Regions from separate parts of the Homo sapiens genome. Here region 1 is linked to region 2. The links are contacts of gene promoters, found by promoter capture Hi-C in blood cells and fetal thymus (Javierre and others, 2016). All regions are on one chromosome and are shown on one strand. The core of a region is centred on a gene start or on the middle of the fragment in contact, and the rest is flanking DNA. Distances in the headings are between cores, read along the strand shown.

Region 1 (4,175 bases), core at 845-3,344, 270 kb before region 2:
AGCAATTGCAACAAAAACAGTAATCAACAATAGGACCTAATTAAACTAAAGAGGTTTGCATAGCAAAAGAAACTATCAACAGAGAAATTAGACAATCTACAGAATACGAGAAAATGTTAGTAAAGTATGCATCTGACAAAGGTGTAATAATCCAGAATCTATAAGAAATTTAGGCCAGGTGTGGTGGCTCACACCTGTAATCCCAGCAATTTGGGAGGCCAAGGTGGGTGGATCACCTGAGGTCAGAAGTTCGAGACCAACCTGGCCAACATGGTGAAACCCCATCTCTACTAAAAATACAAAAGTTAGCCAGGTGTGGTAGCACGCACCTGTAGTCCCAGCTACTCAGGAGGCTGAGGCAGGAGAATCACTTGAACCTGGGAGGTAGAGACTGCAGTGAGCTGAGATTGCACCATTGCACTCCAGCCTGGGCAACAAAAGCGAAACCCCATCTCAAAAAAAAAAAAAAAAAAAAAAAGAAGCAGCAGCAGCAGCTTAAACAAATCAGCAAGCAATAAACAAATAACCCCATTAAAAAGAGGCAAAGGACATGAACAGACACTTCACAGAAGAGGACATACAAGCGGCCTACAAACATATGAAAAAATGATCATCATCACTAATCATTAGAGAAATGCAAATTAAAACCACAATGAGACACCATCTCTCACCAGTCAGAATGGCTATTATTAGTCATAAAACAACAGATGGTGGCAAGGCTGCAGAGAAAAGAGAATGCTTATACCCTGTTGGTGGGAATGTAAATTAGTTCAGCCACTATAAAAAGCAGTTTGGAGATTTCTGAAAGAACTTAAAACAGAACTATGATTCAATCTGAAAATCTCATTTCTGGATATATATCTGAAGGAAAATAAATCACTCTACCAAAAAGCACGTGCACTCGTATGCTCATCACAGCACTATTCACAATAGCAAAGACATGGAATCAACCTAGGTGTCCATTGACAGTGGATTGTATAAGGAAAATGTGGTACATATACACCATGGAATACTACACAGCCATAAAAAAGAATGAAATCATGTTGTTTGCAACAACATGGAGGCAGCTGGTGGCCATTATCCTAAGTGAATTAACATAGGAACAGTGAACCAAATACTGCATGTACTCACTTACAAGTGGGAGCTAAGCATTGAGTACGCATGGACGTAATAATGAGAACAATAGATACTGGGAACTACTAGAAGGGGGAGGGAGGGAGGAAGGGAAATGTCAGCTGAAAAACTACCTATTGGGTACTATGCTCTCTTCCTAGGTGACAGAATGATCTGCACTACAAACCTCAGCATCATGAAATTTACCCATGTAACAAACCTGCATATGTACCCACTGAATCTAGAATAAAAGTTGAAATTGCTGTCTAAAAAAGCTCTTTGTTTCATTGACTTTGTCTATATATTTTTGTTTCCTATTTCATTAATTTCTACTTTGATTGCTATTGTTTCTTTTTTCTACTTAGTTGGGTTTTAATTTCTTCTTTTTCTTGTTTCTTAATATGGAAGCTGAGTTCATTAATTTGAGGCATTTCTTCTTTTTTATATAGTCATGCAGTGCTTTAAACTTTCCTTTAAATATTGCTTTAGTGGTATACAACAGATTCTGGTATGGTAATTTTTCACATTTATTCAGTTCAAAACACTTTCTAATTTCCCTTCAAATTTCCTCTTTGATTCATTGATTATTTAGAATGTGTTAATTTCCAAATACTTGGGAATTTTCCAGAAATCATTATACTATTAGTTTCCATGTGAGAAGAAACATTTTTAATGACTTAAACCCTTAAATTTATTGAGACATTTTATGGCCAAAAATATGATCTATCTTGGCAAATTTTCCATGTACACTTAAAAAGAATATGTAATCTGTTGTCGTTGGATGGAATGTTGTTAAAATGTACATCAAATAAATGCGGACAATAATTTGATTCAAGTCTTTATTTATTTATTTAGTTTTGAGAAGGTGTCTCGGTCTCTGTCGGCCAGGCTGGAGTGCAGTGGCGCGGGTGCAACCTCCGCCTCCCGGGTTCAAGCGATTCTCCTCTCTCAGCCTCCTGCGAAGCTGGGATTACAGTCATGTGCCACCATGCCCGGCTATATATATATATAGTTTTTTGAGACAGAGTTTCGCTTTTGTCCCCCAGGCTGGAGTGCAGTGGCGCGATCTTGGCTCACTGCAACCTCCGCCTCCTGGGTTCAAGAGATTCTCCTGCCTCAGCCTCCCGAGTAGCTGGGATTACAGGCATACACCACCATGCCCCTCTAATTTTTGTATTCTTAGTTTCGTCAAGTTGGCCAGACTGGTCTTGAACTCCAGACCTCAGGTGATCCACCTGACTCGCCTCGCAAAGTGCTGGGATTACAGGCATGAGTCACCATCCCCAGTCTGGTTGAAGTCTGTTATATGCTTGCTGATATTTTTTGTCTATTATCATATCAATTATTGAAAAAGGAGTATCTAACCTTTGATGATAATTATGATTTTGTCTACTTCTCCTGTAGTTCTATCAGGTTTGCTTTGTATATTTTAAAGCTCTGATAATCAAGGCATAAATATTATGGATTTTCATTCTCTCTTGATGAACTGACCTCTAACCAAGTAAACTTTTTTATTCCTGTTAGTAATGTTTGTTCTGAAATCTATTAGTCTGAAATTAGTACAGCCACTCCTGCTTTTCTTTGATTAATATTGGCATGATATATCTTTTTTTATCCTTTTACTTTTAACCTATTTTTTTGTCTTTAAACCGAGTATATTCCTTTTAGCTGACATAACATTTGGGCTCGCTATTTTACATCATTTAACAATTTCTTTTGGGTGTTTAAAACATTTACATTTAATGAAATTCTGATTAATTATACTTAAGTCTGTCATCTTGATATTTGTTTTCAATTTGTCTCCTTTGATCTATTTCCTATTTCTTTTTCCTCCTTTTTTTTTTTTTTTTTTAGACGGAGTCTCGCTCTGTCGCCCAGGCTGGAGTGCAGTGGCCGATCTCTGCTCACTGCAAGCTCCGCCTCCCAGGTTGATGCCATTCTCCTGCCTCAGCCTCCCAAGTAGCTGGGACTACAGGCACCTGCCACCATGCCTGGCTAATTTTTTGTATTTTTTAGTAGAGACAGGGTTTCACCATGTTAGCCAGGATGGTCTCGATCTCTTGACCTTGTGATCTGCCTGCCTTGGCCTCCCAAAGTGCTGGGATTACAGGTGTGAGCCACCGTGCCCGGCCTCCTGAAGAATTTTTTAAATGTTTTCTCTACTGAAATTCTGTTTGTGATTAATTCTGATTTAAGATGTCTGAAAACATTATTATTTCATCTGTACTTTTAAATGATATTTTCACTGGGTGTAGAATGCTAGGCTGACAGATTTTTTTGTATACTTCAAAAATGTTACTCCACAGTCTTCTTACTTGTATTATTTCTTATGACAAATATTCTATCATTCTTTGTTTCTCTGTACATAATTATCTATGCTTTTGTTAGATATTTTATTTTCGTTTTGTCACAGGGTTTATGCATTTTTTATTATGATGTGCCTTGGTGAAGTTTTTTTGTTTGTTTCTTGTATTCAGAGTTCTTTAGCTTTTGGATCTATTGTTTTACATTTTTCATTAGCTTTGAAAATGTTAAGCATTATTTTTTCAAATATGTTTTCTGCTCCAACCTCTACCCCACTCCCACACACTGTTAAGGGATTTAATACACGCGTATTAGGCGCTAGAAATTATCTCCCAGCAACCTAATGCTCTGCTCTGCCCTTTCCCTCCCGTCCCCTCCCCTCTCTTACTTTCCGCTTCTCTTCCCCCTGCCTTCTTTCCTTTCTATTACTTTCTGTTCTTTCTCCTTCTCTTTTCCTTCTTTTTTTTTTTTTTGAGACAGAGTCTCACTCTGTCGCCCAGGCTGGAGTGCAGTGGCACGATCTCGGCTCACTGCAAGCTCCACCTCCCGGGTTCATGCCATTCTCCTGCCTCAGCCTCCCAAGTACTACAGGTGCCCGCCACCACGCCCGGCTAATTTTTTGTATTTATTAGTAGAGATGGGATTTCACCTAGATAGCCAGGATGGTCTCGATCTCCTGACTTCGTGATCCACCCGCCTCGGCCTCCCAAAGTGCTGGGATTACAGGCGTGGGCCACCGCGCCTGGCCTCTTTTCCTT
Region 2 (4,696 bases), core at 582-3,081:
TGGTGCTACTATTGCAAGAACACTAATTGTATTATTTTATGTGCTTCATGAGAACTCAGGAAAATATTTTTTCTGATTTAGGATCAAGATTAATTATATCAATCTTAAGGAATAGGTGTAACTTTATCTTATACACAATGTGAACTGAACAACTGGTAAGAATTCCCTTAGGTCAGTAATAACAAGGAAGCTTGGAAGCAAATGTATAGCAAGCACAAACATGCCTACAGTAATTTTTCTGGCCCAATTTATTTTCCCAGCCCTATCCTTCCTTCATTCATAATTTAAATGGATATTATCTTATATTTTATGTATCAATACTCAGATTTTAAGTCTCTGTACACATTTGTATATTAAAAAGTAGTTTATAGATTAAAAAATAGTAAATTTAGTTTAACATCCACATAAAAGCATCATCAGGTAGATTTTTCTTATTATATATCAAAGTATTGAGATTTAAGAAGGCTAAAAGCTTCTGCCCAGAGCCATACATTTAGTCTGTGGGCTTTAGGGTCTGAATAATTTTTTTTGTTTTTTTATATATGGAGTCTTGCTCTGTCACTCAGGCTGGAGTGCAGTGGCATGATCTCAGCTGACTGCAACCTCCGTCTCCCGGGTTCAAGCGATTCTCCTGCCTCAGCCTCCCAAGTAGTTGGGATTACAGGCACACGCCACCATACCCAGCTAATTTTTTTTGTATTTTTAGTAGAGACGGGGTTTCACCATGTTGGCCAGGCTGGTCTCGAATTCCTGACCTCAGGTGACCCGCCCACCTCTGCATCCCAAAGTGCTGGGATTACAGGCATGAGCCACCGTGCCTGGTCTGCCTCAGTCAATTTAACACCAATGGTACTAGTTTTTGCTGCATGGAAGTAAGTTACTATTGAAAAAGTAAACATTTGTTTCATGATATTGAAACACAAAAAAGATCTGAGTCTTCAGATAATAACAAAAGTGTCATTTTGTGGGGGCAGGGGGTGCAGGGGAAGTTTGCATTTGCTAGATATAAAATGAGATTGTACACGAGAATGTTCAATACATATGGCAGAACTGCCACTGCGACTGGTAATTCTGAATTTCTGGCCTATGTCATCTTAACTTAGGTCTTGGCTATTTCAACAAGATTGTTTTCAAAATTCCTGAAAAAGCAAACAAAGCCAACCACAGAGCAGCCCTAAGGAGCAAAGATTAATGTTTTTTTGTTTTTTTTTCTCTCTTCTCGCATTCCCAGTAGATTGTTCTACCAATCCTATAGGGCTTTTACGAAGATTAAAAATATTATATATGTATAAGCATAAATATATATATAAGCATATATATACGCTTTAAGTTTATATAAACTTTAAGTTTTGTAGGAGGAAGTTTCTGTAAAAACACAATTTTTCAGCCTTTTCTTCGAAAGTGATGTTCTTATGCTACAACACACAGGATTACACATCGTCATATTCGCATTTCTCTTACCTCATGGCTCTGAAAATGCAGACTTTTTATTGTTGATGCTTTCATGAATCTAAATAATCTAACAGACAATTTATGACCATTTTTATATTCCTTATTATGATCAATGTTAAGATGTTAAAAATATTCTAAGATAATTCTCTTCCTAGAAGAATAATGAAATTTTAAATGCGGTGATGGGGAGCAGTATTCCTACCTTTAGATTTCTGCTTCGATTTACAACGATTCTTGAAACTCAGCGTCATATACCCATCTTCATTCTCCATCTCTTCAAATGTCTAATGTCTTATTATCCAGAAAATAGTACAAAGAAAATGGAAACTAATCTCAACCTTGGATATGTCTCTTTGGCACAAGGTACTAAAAGAAAACTAAAAGGAAGGCCAAAAATAGTCAAAATTTACTCAGACACAGATGTCTAAAACCACACAGGATGTGTTGGTAAATGAAAATGGATATAAGCTTGTTAATATCTGGCTACAATTCTGTGAATTTCAAGGTAAAGGTAGCTAGTGTGTTCCACTGTTTTCAACAAATGGACTTGTGTGTTCCTGCCACTTGTGTGCGGTGTATTAGAAACATAATTCCTTCCTTCATGTCTTTTATAATAAAGTAAGAGAAAAAATAAAATAAAACAAATAATCTCTAAACAAACAGAACAAATGTCTAGGTAAATAAAAATTCAAATTAAAAAAGTTAAAATAGCAATTTTGTTATTTGGGACATATTTGACTAGTAGAGTCCAAATAACGATGGTTAGATGGGACAAAAATAGGAAAATAAAAGATCAGCAAGTCTCAAGTTAGTGAAAATCGGAATCACTTGCAAAGAATTTAACTTTTTAAACTTTTTTGTTTGTTTGTTTGTTTTTCAGAAAACGCCAGGCAGATTTTCCTTCAGTAGGTGTGGCAGTTTATTTTGTGTCAACTTGGCTGAGTCACAGAGAGTCCAGATAGTTGATCAGACATCATTCTGCTTATTTCTGTGAGGGTGTTTTTGGATGGGATTCATATTTAAATAGGTGACCTTTGAGTAAGGCAGATTTGCCTCCTCTGTAATGTGACTGGGCCTTATTGAGTCAGTTGGAGCCTTGAATAGAACAAAAAGACTTGTCTTCCCTGAGTGAGAGAGAATTCTCCAGCAATGGCCTTCAGACTATCTGCAGCATTAGCTCCTCCTGATTCTACAGACGGTGGACTTTGCATTTGAATTGAGCCTTCCTAGGTACCCAGTCTGTCCATGCTCATTTGCAGAATTTTGACTTACCAGCCTCCATAATCACATTCCTTATTTTATATATATTTCACTTAACACGCACACACACACACACACACACACACATGCTAATGGTTCTGTTTCTGCTACGTGGCCACTCAATATCAATCCATTGATTTAACACCGAGTGTCTGGGGAAGGTGGCTGACTGTTTCCCACAGCACATGTTGTGTTCACCTGATTATTGAGTCTCCTCCTCAACACTGGATGTCACTTGTGAGTATTTACATGGGAATGAATATTTACACACGCCGCGTCCATTCTGCATGATCTCTATATGTACCTCTTAGCTTCTCATTCATTTTTCTATTTTGTTCTTTTTGAGTTTCCGACAAGTCATCTCACCTATTAGTTTCTGATAAGATGATTTAGATGTATTTCTCTGAGTGCTTATCCTTCCTGTTAGGTTCACAACCAGACATATTGTCCAAACTTCTGTTCAGTGGGAAGACTTACCTTCACTTCTGTCTTTCACAGTCTTCTCCTGAATGGGACTGTAGTGTGGCATCTATTCCAGCTGCCGTATTTTACATAACCACTGATAAACTTATTTTTTTCAACTACTTCAGTGTAAGATCGTACAGAACCCTCTTTTCCATCCCCAACCCGGGTCATAGGTATGGTTGAGGTGGAGATAGCAAAGGAATGCGAACATGTGCCATCGGAGTCTGAGCCATCTGCTCATGCAGTTTACTGTGCTTCTTTGGAACTGTTCAGGCCTTGCCTCCAAAATGGCACAATTATGTTTGTGATAAAATGCTTCTGTGCACTTCTAAACATAGGGTTCATTGGGTCAAAGTGGTCAAGTTGGATCAAGTTAATGGTGGTGAACATATGTCTTATAAAAATATGTAGTAGGTTTACTGCCTACTTTTCACCAGGAACAGTTGGCATGATAGCATCAATGTAATGAATCTATTGTGTGCAACCAGTTCTGAGGTATAACATATTGGGAGCTATATCAAGATGATTTAGTTCCCTCTGGGCCATCTTATAACAGAGATCAGGAGAGCTGACATACACCTGGGCAAGGCAGCAAAGAAATACTTGTTATTTCTGTTTGTAAATACAAGCCGGAAACCATCACAGGTTCTCAGCTTTTTCCCAGTGTATAGTCATTCAAGAAAATGACTGAAGTTTCCTCCGGTTTAGGTGTTGGGGAATAAATATCATAATTACACCTGTGGCCATGTTACAATGTCCTTCACCAAGAGACCAAACCTACCTCCTCCCCAGTTGAGTGGTTCCTGGTCTGCGAAGAGCTTTGCCTACTAACTATATGGAAGTCTGGGGATTGGGTAAGACACAATGAATCTCCTCTCTGAAAATACGGGCTAAGTTTCTGGGCAACATACATGTAATTTTCCTTAGCATATCAAGCAGCTCCTTAGTGAAATATCCTTTTTTGTTTGTTTTTCTTTTCTTTTCTTTTTTTTTCATTTCCCAAAACTTAAAATCAGCTAATCATTGTCACAGATTTCTGTGGATGAAAACTCTGATTACTAATCATTCCCTCTGGCTTATTGTGGCAACTGCAACCCCTTGACCTCTAGAATCAAATTATTGCCGTTGATATCAGAAAGCCTGATTCCGCTGTAGCATCTCCCAATACATCTATAGTCAACAGTGAACAGTTGCCACAGCAGGTCGTCACCAGGTTCCCTCACAAAAGCATTCTCCATCCCCCCATCCTCCTAAAAAATCGGTTCACAAAACTGACCTTGAAGAGAGGAAATCAAAGCCTGGAGGAGGCTGTAGAAAGGAGAGAGAAGGTGGTCAATGACTGCCTAGCCTCCTCACTGTATAAAAGGTAGCAACTTTAAAACTGTTCCCCCACCCTCCATCCTGGGCGCCAGACCCCTCAGTTCTACCCAAGGGCCATCAAGTACCTTCAGAAACTTCTCTTCCCTTTACCTTCTATGCCTGGGCCAATTCTCTCAGTATGGGTCTAACAGATTTGGTG

Evidence for each region. Contacts are between HindIII fragments. The CHiCAGO score rates a contact against its expected background, and 5 or more counts as called.
Region 1: a fragment that was not itself captured here is called in contact with the fragment with the promoter of KLRF2 in region 2 in 1 of 17 cell types (neutrophils); the score reaches 6.3 in neutrophils.

Annotation. Positions count from the first base shown.
Region 1 is chr12:10,144,760-10,148,934 of GRCh38, reverse strand. No RefSeq gene overlaps it. Among named protein-coding and RNA genes, the nearest start is that of CLEC7A, 17 kb to the right of the region's middle. The HindIII fragment of the contact is 6,553 bases long and covers 1-4,175 here.
Region 2 is chr12:9,878,624-9,883,319 of GRCh38, reverse strand. KLRF2 (killer cell lectin like receptor F2) reads right to left here and starts at 1,831. Exons shown (of 6, transcript NM_001190765.1): 1 at 1,655-1,831. The coding sequence starts at 1,724. It also overlaps a transcript of CLEC2A not described here. The HindIII fragment of the contact is 1,448 bases long and covers 475-1,922 here.